Linked DNA regions of Homo sapiens: regions 1 and 3 are each linked to region 2. The links are contacts of gene promoters, found by promoter capture Hi-C in blood cells and fetal thymus (Javierre and others, 2016). All regions are on one chromosome and are shown on one strand. The core of a region is centred on a gene start or on the middle of the fragment in contact, and the rest is flanking DNA. Distances in the headings are between cores, read along the strand shown.

Region 1 (3,391 bases), core at 511-3,010, 140 kb after region 2:
TTGATCTCCTGACCTCGTGACCTGCCCACCTCGGCCTCCCAGAGTGCTGGGATTACAGGTGTGAGCCACCGCGCCCGGCCCCAGATTTTGTATATGCAGTACAATTGGTGTTGTGGTAGTTTAATTGCATACTGATCTACTAGTCTTGATTTTAGCAAATTTTCATGTTTCGTACATTTAAATGTGCTTGTTTTAAAATCTTTATTTCTTGGGGTTGAGGGTGTATTATACTATTAAAATAAATTGCATTAAAATAAATACGAATATACTTACTCTGCTTTAGAAAGTAATGCTTCAATTGGAATCTGTCGTAAGGAATTAATTCTAATTCCTTGTTCTTTCTCTTTCTCATTTCTTAGGTGATCCAGATTAATCTGAATTCAATAGTTCCATCTGTTAGTGGTCCAAAAAGACCTCAGGATAGAGTTGCTGTGACAGATATGAAAAGCGATTTCCAGGCTTGCTTAAATGAAAAGGTAGGTTACTTTATTCTTATCCGTGTTTTTCAACCCGCTTTGTGCTAAGTAGTAAAGAACCAACAAGGTGACCCATAAACTCAATTCACTGCTATGTTTTATATATTATGGCACACACCAGCAGCCCCCTTATTTTCCTTCTGTCTAATGTGCAAGTCAGTCATTAGGTAAGCTTGTTCCCAGTTCCATTGTGAGGATCAGAGATTGATTGTGTCTATTTAAATTAAAATTATATACAATTTAAAATTGAGTTTCTTAGTCACAGTAGTCTCATTTTTAAATGCTGAATACATATGGGTCTTGTATTGATGAACAGCATAGATAATTGAATAGTTACATCATCACAGAAACTTTTTTTTTTTTTTTTGAGACAGAGTCTCACTTTGTTGCCCAAGCTGGAGTGCAGTGGCACAATCTCGGCTCACTGCAACCTCCCCCCTCCCGGGCTCAAGCGATTCTCCTGCCTCAGCCCCCAAAGTAGTTGGAATTACAGGAGTCTACCATCATTCCTGGGTAATTTTTGTATTTTTAGTAGAGACAGGGTTTCACCATGTTGGCCAGACTGGTCTTCAACTCCTGACCTCAAGTGATCTGCCCACCTCAGCCTCCCAACAGTGCTGGGATTATAGCCATGAGCCACCGCACCTGGCCTACAGTCATAAAATTTGGTAAATGTGACCGAGTAGCAAGTGGTCTCTGGCTTTTGAGGGTTTGTATTTTCTGTCTGAGAATCACAGTTTTAGTCTTGTCACTTTCTCTATTCTGAGATCTCTAGTACTTGGCTTTCCTTTCAGAGCCTTTCTTTTTATGATTTCTTGACTTTTTGTTCAGAAAGTGTTAAACTTGTACAAAAACAAAATAGTCCACTGAATTGCCATGTACCTGTCAATTAGCTTCAATAATTAGCAACTCATAGCCAATCTTGTTTCAGCTATGCTACACTCACACACATAGGATCCCTTTGGAGGAAATCTTCGGGGTCATTTTAACAGAAAAAAATTTCTGCCATCTCTTGAGAATTACTATAAACAGGGATGATTAAGAACAACAAAGCCAAATGAGATCTGGATTCTGGGTGGTAGGCTGGACTCGCTTAGTAGATAAAAGTTTTGCTTGTGAACATCACCAGACTCCTGTCGTGCCCATGCAGATTTATGCTTCAGCTGAATTACAACTACTGAATGTTATGGGCCTTTAGCATCACTCACAAAAAGGATTTTTAATGTTAAATCATCAAATGTCCGGTATCTGCTATGTTTTCTGCCAGTCTTTTATTCTGTACATACCCAGAATATTTAGTTTATATTTTTGTGGAAATTTGTATAGGTTGGATTTAAAGGCTTCCAAATTGCAGCTGAAAAACAAAAGGATATTGTCTCCATTCATTATGAAGGAAGTGAATATAAGCTGTCTCATGGATCAGTGGTCATTGCTGCAGTTATCAGTTGTACCAATAATTGCAATCCATCTGTCATGCTTGCTGCAGGTGGGTTGTGGTTTATGGCCATACTTTTTCTTTTTCCTTAATTATTGTTGGCTTTTCTGTTATTGTAACTTTGTTTCTTAGATGATGCATGAGTGTCTACATTTGATATTGAGAGACTTTCTAGTATTTTAGTTAGGTCTTAAGGAGCCTGAGTTTGATTTATGTTGTTTTTATTACACCGAAGGTAAATTTACTGTTTACTATAACTTACCTGTCAATTAATTTTAGGTTGTATCTGCTTCTCTTGTTAATTTAGAACTATAGTTAATTAGCAGGTATTTCTTGATTATCTAGAAGTTAACCATAACAGTGTGGTAGATTTCATTAAAAGTTATAAAAGTAGTAAAAGATCATTGTCTTGGCAAGGATTGTAAATGAAATTAATTTGTATGCCCATTGGAACAATTCCTTAGTTGTATAAAACCATGTATAATGTGTTACATTGCTCTTATTGTAATTATGACTTTAAAATGGTTTGCTTTAGAAAAAAGAAGAAAGAGAAAAAATGGTTTTGTTAACATGTACTTATATATGTGCACCTTTTGTTTACTCTGTGTGAATGATGTCAGCCTGTATCTTAATAATTTTCAACATAAAGGCTGTAATTTTAAATTTGTTGTAAATGAAGCAAATCAGTAGAATAAAGTGGACAAAATAATGACAGTAAGTTTATGAATTCATACTTTAATCTGTTAAATAAATTACTTCTCACTTTTTACTTTAATATGGGTGAGAGAGGGAAAGAAACATTGCCATAATAAATCATTGTTTGTTGGCTGTGCAGGTCTTTTGGCTAAAAAGGCTGTTGAAGCTGGTCTGCGTGTTAAACCTTATATAAGAACAAGTTTATCTCCAGGCAGTGGGATGGTTACACATTACCTCAGTTCAAGTGGAGTATTACCATATCTAAGTAAGCTTGGGTAAGTAACAGCTATCGCACTTCATATTGATATTGGTGTTCAGTAGGTACTGAAGCTGCTTGTTTGTGCCTTTCATATACAAAGAGAAGATAGAAAAAATATGCTTTAGTTTTACTTGCTACCTTGCCATTACCATACAATTTTTGATGCCTTATCACTCAGGAAACACTTATTGGGCATATCAAATGAGCAAAGCACCAGGTTGGATACACAGAAGTAGGAGATGTGGTCTTAGCTTCAAGATACTTAGTTGGGAAGACAAGACAAACAAGTACAACCAAATAACAGTTACAGTGTAAGAAACGATACCAAGTATGCACAATTTCTGTGAGTTGTGTAGGTCAGTTCAAAAAAGAAAGAAATCTTATAGTTTGCATTTATTAACTGAAAATTGTCTTAATTTTAGTTTTATGAGGTTATTGGGTCTATAATACATAAGTTTAAATTGTCCCTGAACTTTGGAGAAAGTAACTTATGTTTTTTGGGCTGGGCGCGGTGGCTCACGCCTG
Region 2 (3,342 bases), core at 710-3,209:
AAAATTCAGGACTCCTTGTTCAAAAAGTATTATGGGGCCAGGCACGGTGGCTCATGCCTGTAATCCCAGCACTTTGGGAGGCCGAGGAGGGCGGATCACGAGGTCAGGAGATCGAGACTATCCTGGCTAACACAGTGAAACCCTGTCTCTACTAAAAATACAAAAAATTAGCTGGGCATAGTAGCACACACCTGTAGTCCCAGCTACTTGGGAGGCTGAGCCAGGAGAATCATTTAAACCCAGGAGGCAGAGGTTGCAGTGAGCCAAGATTGCGCCACTGCACTCCAGCTCGGGCAACAGAGCGAGACTCTGTCTCAAAACAAACAAACAAACAAAAAGTATTCTGACGTTCAAGCTGGCAATAGCAGAGCATTCCTGCTTTTCCATTTTCCAATCTAACTATCAGGCCCTTCTAAGTGCATGGCCCTGTGTGACTGCACAGACGGCACGTCCAGAATGCCGGCCCTGCCCATGCCCCTTTCCAGCTGGTGATGGCCCCACTCCCCTCTCCTGTCCTCAGCTGCTTTCTTAGACAGATCCTCGGAGCCTCCTGGCAGCAACCCAGCCCCAGCCACCTCCAGAAGTTTCCAGGGCCCTGTTCAGTAGGCACTCAGCACAGATTCCCCAAGGTCCTGGGGGAATCTTCACCCCAGGCCACCACTCACATCCTCCTCAAATCAATGCACAGTTATCGAGCCCCACCTGGCTAAGCCTTAGGAAGGGAGGACAAGTGGATAAACGATCACTGCCCTCCAGGAGTTCAGTTTATAGCAGAGCGAAGACTTGAACAAGAGCAGGACCGGACAAGAATCCTGTCAATTCAGAGAAAAATAATCACAGTTTATTAGGAAACTGAATTTCACAAAAGAGAGAGCATAAAGATGGGCTTTCGTGAATGGGCAAGATTTGATTAACCCGATGAGGAAAGGGGCATTCAAGGAAGAAGCCATGGCATGGGCAAAAACTTAGAGATAATAAAATGCATGGCACGTTCTAGAATCCTGAATTGTACAGTTTGGCTGAGGTGTGCAGATGGTAAAATAGTGGGAAAAAGCTGGAAGGAAAATGTACAGAGAAGAGCTACAAGGGTAATAGTGAAGTGTTTGTACTCCCTTAGTGGAAACACCGAGGGGACTTTAGGTCGTGATGTTTAGGTTATTTGGGAGCAAAGGGAGAAGACTTCCTCCCCTTGGCCCTCACAGCCTGCCCGAAGAGTGCAAAGCCTCACGCTTTTGCAAAACAGGCCGCACCTAGCCCAGATTCTGGAGCTGATTCAGTCCATGCCTCTCGACCCACAGTTTGTCCTGAGCCCTGACAAAGGTCTGGCCCCCTCCTGCACTCGGAACGCGGAGGACCCGCAGCTCGTGGATTCGCGCCTCAGTGCCCAAGCTGGTGTTGATGGGGGTTGCGGTTTCCTGCCACTCACTCCCCATGGGTCCTGTGGGGGGCGTGGGGATGCGGGGAGAGGGTTTCAGAATAGGATCCCGGACTGGGAGGGAAGGGACACCATCTGGGCACACCCAGTAGGTACGACCGGAGGTGAAAAAAGAGTGGGTCCCATCCCCTGATGGCCCCGCTCGCTATCCACTTTAAGTTTATGTTATGGATATTTTCAAACATATTCAAAAGTAGAGAGAAAAGTAGAATCATAACCCAAGTCCACACCGCCCAGCTTCAACAGTTATCCCCTCCAAGCCCATCTTGTTTCAGCTAACCCTCTCCCACCACCCATTTTAAAGCGGGATGTGGGTGTCCTGAGGGAGGTGGAGGCTCCCCAGTTGGAGAGCGGGTGCCCGCACCTCTGGAGGCTGAGGCACAACTGGGCTGGGAGTTGAGCGCATACCGAGTAGGGGCTGCGGGGGAGCGGGGGCAGGGCCGGCGGGGCGGGGCCAGAAGCCCGGCGGGGTTGGGGGCGCTCTCCTAGTGACTCAAGGCGCGCAGCGCTGGGCGCAAAGCGCCAGTCTCCGCCTTGCGAGCTCAGAGTGTGCCCGCTGCGCCGCCGCTGTCCGTACCTGCCGCCGCCGCCACCGCCACCATGCCCAACTTCGCCGGCACCTGGAAGATGCGCAGCAGCGAGAATTTCGACGAGCTGCTCAAGGCACTGGGTAAGCTGGTGCAGAGGGCGCGCCCCGACGGGGAGATGCGGCCCGGAGGTGCCCTGGTCCCGGAAGTGCCCCGGTCCTGGAGGGGGTGGAAGTTGGGGAGCCCAGGCAGGAGGGAGTCCCCGGGGCAATAGATCGCCTTGTCTCCCAGGCGCACCGGGTCTCGGAGAAGCTGGTAGAGATCCCGGAACCCACGCGTTCAGCGAACGTTTGCTGAATGTTTGGCGCCCTCCTCGATGGTGCGGACTTTATCTCGTGCTAGATCATAGCGAGGAGAGATTACTGGAGAGCAAGGAGGATCAGGGACTTAAATTTGGAGACTCAAATTTGGGACCAGGCTCTGCCACGAATTCACTGTGCAACTCGAGGAAAGTCACTTACCCTCTCTGTGCCTCAGTCTCTCATCTCGAAAACAAGGGCGAGGGCAGGGAAACGAGTGGATCAATTTTAAGGCCCCTTTCTAAAGTTAGGGTATGACCAGTGCCCGACCGGTCCCGAGACTGGCGGCGAGGCCCCGTGACCCAAGCCTGTGGTGCACCCTGCGCAGGTGTGAACGCCATGCTGAGGAAAGTGGCCGTAGCGGCTGCGTCCAAGCCGCACGTGGAGATCCGCCAGGACGGGGATCAGTTCTACATCAAGACATCCACCACGGTGCGCACCACTGAGATCAACTTCAAGGTCGGAGAAGGCTTTGAGGAGGAGACCGTGGACGGACGCAAGTGCAGGGTGAGGCCCCAGAGCCACTACAGCGTCCCCGTGTCCCCGCTCGGTGCCCATGGCCCACTGCTGCTGGAGGAACCTGTGTCTCCCTTTGCAGCCTGTGGCGCGCCTTCCTTGCAGGGTGTGTACACTGGCTGTTTGCAGAGGGGGTTTGTGCATCCTAGTTGCCCCTGGCTCAAGACAAAGTATTACCTTCATTCCATCTCAACCCCATCCCTACGCTGCCTCCCGGGGTGCTAACAGCCGCGCTTAAAGAGCGGGCTCTGGGTTGCGCCGCGTTCCCAGCAGTGGCTTTTGCAGCGGTTTGCAGCGCCAAGCGCAGGCGGCGCAGGAGGAGGAGGAGGTTGCAGGAGCCGCCAGGTTCTCTGTCGCAGGTGAAGCCGCAGCTCTTGCATTCCTTTCCCGCCGTATCCCCCGCGCCCGCCCGGGTCCCTGGGCCGCCTGGGTACGCTCTGGATACAGTTTTAGCAGTCCCGATGGCCCCGTCACCTCTCCCTTCCCGCCTTCGGCCTGGTTCCTT
Region 3 (3,377 bases), core at 290-2,789, 250 kb after region 2:
GAATAAATCTGGCAAAATCACAGCCTTTATCCCAAAAGGGACATTTGATGTATATATTTTTAAAACTTTTTTTCATATGTTAATGATTTAATTTCAATAAGACTTTCCTTCCTTATTTTATTGTATTTCAATAGGTTTTTGGGGAACATGTGTTTGGTCACATGCATAAGTTCTTTCATGCTGATTTCTGAGACTTTGGTGCACCCATCATAAAAACTTCTAATGCTTGTGGGTTTGTGAAGTATCTATTTGGTGGTAGCATAATGAAATTAGTTTATAAGGTTTGGAGCTATCATTGGAGTTTTTAAAAGTACATAGATTTGTTAGGTAATGGTTTAGACTGAGATGGAATTTAATAAATGTCTGCAAAGTATTGTGCAAAAGGGTCATGGCTCATACTACTAGGACCAAGGAGGTTGGTTTTATTTTCAGATAAAAACAGAGGCAGAGGTGGCCAGGTGCGGTGGCTCACGCCTGTAATCCCAGCACTTTGGGAGGCTGAGGCAGGTGGATCACGAGGTCAGGAGTTTGAGACCAGCCTGGCCAATATGGTGAAACACTGTCTCTCCTAAAAATAGAAAAATTAGCTGGGCATGGTGGTGTGTGCCTGTAGTCCCAGCCACCTGGGAGGCTGAGGCAGAAGAATCACTTAAACTTGGGAGGCAGAGGTTGCAGTGAGCCGAGGTCACGCCACTGCACTCCAGCCTGGGGGACGGAGCAAGGCTCTGTCTCAAAATAAAATAAGCAGAGAAGTAACAGGGTTTACAATGCCCTAAATTCTAAATTATCCTACACTTTGGAGGCACAGTTCCCATAGAGGACACCATCCTTCATAGAGGTTCAGGGCCAGGGAAGCCCCTGGTCAAGGAAATGGCCTTGTAGAAAGGGGAGCCCCTGCTGCTTAGTGGCTGGGCTCATCCTTCTTTTTCCTTGTGGTGGCTCCGAGCTGCTGAGCCAGCTCCCTACTAAAGCTGGCTCCAGGGAAGACTGTTCTGTGCTCATGAAATTAGACTGAAGTGGTCCCTAGGAAATCCAAAAATAAATAAAGTGTGTATGTGAGGAAGATGAACAGCTTTCTAACATGTATTATTCTGAACCAACTTTTAATTTGGCATGAAATTAATCTCAGGCTAGAGTCTCTCAAAATATTAAAATAAGTAAACACTACTGGGCAAGAATAAGTATATATAGTAAGAATAATTTTTTTTAGTTTATTGTAAAATATCCAAGTCTATTTTAATTTTTAATCTATCAAAATAAACCACTTGTAATATAAGTTGATGTGTAAATGAACATATTTTGTAGTGTCTTTTAAAGCTTATATCTATAGTAGACCTTCAGGCTAGTGTCTGTCCCTGAGCTGAGTATAGGGTCACTTACCGTTTAGAGGCAGCAATGGGAGGCAGAAATCGATTTGGCTTCTAACTCAGTGTGTTTGTTATATCTTAAAATATGTACACAATTTACAATTATTTAATGCATTTTTATTTTTTTCCTAACAGGTTGTTGAAGATTGGAAATTCATAGCCCAGGTTCTTGATCGGATGTTTCTGTGGACTTTTCTTTTCGTTTCAATTGTTGGATCTCTTGGGCTTTTTGTTCCTGTTATTTATAAATGGGCAAATATATTAATACCAGTTCATATTGGAAATGCAAATAAGTGAAGCCTCCCAAGGGACTGAAGTATACATTTAGTTAACACACATATATCTGATGGCACCTATAAAATTATGAAAATGTAAGTTATGTGTTAAATTTAGTGCAAGCTTTAACAGACTAAGTTGCTAACCTCAATTTATGTTAACAGATGATCCATTTGAACAGTTGGCTGTATGACTGAAGTAATAACTGATGAGATACATTTGATCTTGTAAAAATAGCAAAATATTATCTGAACTGGACTAGTGAAAAATCTAGTATTTGTATCCTGGCAAATAATACTAATTTATAATCCACAGTAAAGTTCATCCTTTGACTGTGCTGGAGAATTCCAGTTGTATTTGAAGACTGATTTTAAAACTTTTCTGCATTTGGTAAAGGTATGTAAACTTTCCTGTACTCACTGAGTAACAGCTAATCTTTAATATAATATTATACTGCTATATTTAAAAAGCTGACTACTTGATATAATTACTTAATGTGATGCTTGATATAATAATTACTTAATGTGGCCGGGCACGGTGGCTCACACCTGTAATCCCAGCACTTTGGGAGGTCGAGGTGGGCGTATCACCTGAGGTTGGGAGTTCGAGACCAGCCTGACCAACGTGGAGAAACCCCGTCTCTACTAAAAATATGAAATTAGCCAGGGTGGTGGTGCACACCTGTAATCCCAGCTACCTGGGAGGCTGCGGCAGGAGAATCGCTTGAACCCAGGTGGCGGAGGTTGCGGTGAGCTGAGATCACGCCATTGCACTCCAGCCTGGGCAACAAGAGCAAAACTCAGTCTCAAATAATAATAATAACAACAACTTAATGTGCTGCTGCTTTTCCATAACCAACATTTTAAAAATAAATGAAAAACAGGAATTGGGAACTCCTTTAAGGCTTACTTTATTCTTTAGATGCTTAATTATTGTGTTAACTATTTCTGTAGCTTAGCTTCCACTGTAAAGTCATACAGTAGACAACTCCTGTGGACACGCAGTAGCATATCCTTAACATTAATTTCAGTCCTCTTGTCCACATTTCCCACAATTAATAGAACCATCTTCTATATAAATTGTGGTAGTATCTCTTTATCCTTGATCTTAGAATAGTCAGTCCACTACAATTACATGAACCCCATTTAAAAAACATATTTAGGGCCGGGGGCAGTGGCTCACATCTGTAATCCAAGCACTTTGGGAGGCTGAGGCAGGTGGATCACCAGAGGTTAGGAGTTCGAGACTAGCCTGACCAACATGGTGAAGCCCCGTCTCTACTAAGAATACAAAAAATTAGTCGGGCATGGTAGCAGGCGCCTGTAGTCCCAGCTACTCAAGAGGCTGAGGCAGGAGAATCGCTTGAACCTGGGAGGTGGAGGCTGCAGTGAGCCGAGACTGCGCCATTGCACTCCAGCCTGGCAACAAGAGCAAAACTCTGTCTCAAACATATTTTGGTCTAAATCATTCTGTGAGAAAACAATCTTCTAATATGAAACACAGTATTCTAATTTGGTATATGCACACTGTTATATACCTGTAATATTTCAGTTTTCTCTCCTTCATTCTAACAATTACAATAATAGAATCTTAGAGTTGCAAGGGCCTTTAGATGTAATCAATCTTAGCCTATTACTAGTACAGCGTAAATGATTTAGTACAGTATAATGTATCACAGTTAAAACAGTTAAATTCCATCTCTAAATGTCACCACTTCAGGTGTGACCAGGTAGC

The links. The method cuts DNA at HindIII sites, captures the fragments that hold promoters and counts their contacts. A CHiCAGO score of 5 or more calls a contact.
Region 1: a fragment that was not itself captured here is called in contact with the fragment with the promoter of CRABP1 in region 2 in 2 of 17 cell types (megakaryocytes and M2 macrophages); the score reaches 6.0 in megakaryocytes.
Region 3: a contact is called between a fragment that was not itself captured here and the fragment with the promoter of CRABP1 in region 2, in 1 of 17 cell types (erythroblasts). The highest score is 5.4, in erythroblasts.

Annotation. Positions count from the first base shown.
Region 1 is chr15:78,482,959-78,486,349 of GRCh38, forward strand. IREB2 (iron responsive element binding protein 2) reads left to right here. Exons shown (of 22, transcript NM_004136.4): 11 at 360-476; 12 at 1,803-1,962; 13 at 2,747-2,882. Among named protein-coding and RNA genes, the nearest start is that of HYKK, 23 kb to the right of the region's middle. The HindIII fragment of the contact is 2,229 bases long and covers 647-2,875 here.
Region 2 is chr15:78,338,394-78,341,735 of GRCh38, forward strand. It overlaps CRABP1 (cellular retinoic acid binding protein 1), which reads left to right and starts at 1,960. Exons shown (of 4, transcript NM_004378.3): 1 at 1,960-2,105; 2 at 2,650-2,828. The coding sequence starts at 2,036. RefSeq lists an enhancer at 1,510-2,138. The HindIII fragment of the contact is 12,559 bases long and covers 1-3,342 here.
Region 3 is chr15:78,591,590-78,594,966 of GRCh38, forward strand. It overlaps CHRNA5 (cholinergic receptor nicotinic alpha 5 subunit), which reads left to right. Exons shown (of 6, transcript NM_000745.4): 6 at 1,503-3,377. The coding sequence ends at 1,664. It also overlaps a transcript of CHRNA3 not described here. Among named protein-coding and RNA genes, the nearest start is that of CHRNA3, 28 kb to the right of the region's middle. The HindIII fragment of the contact is 449 bases long and covers 1,316-1,764 here.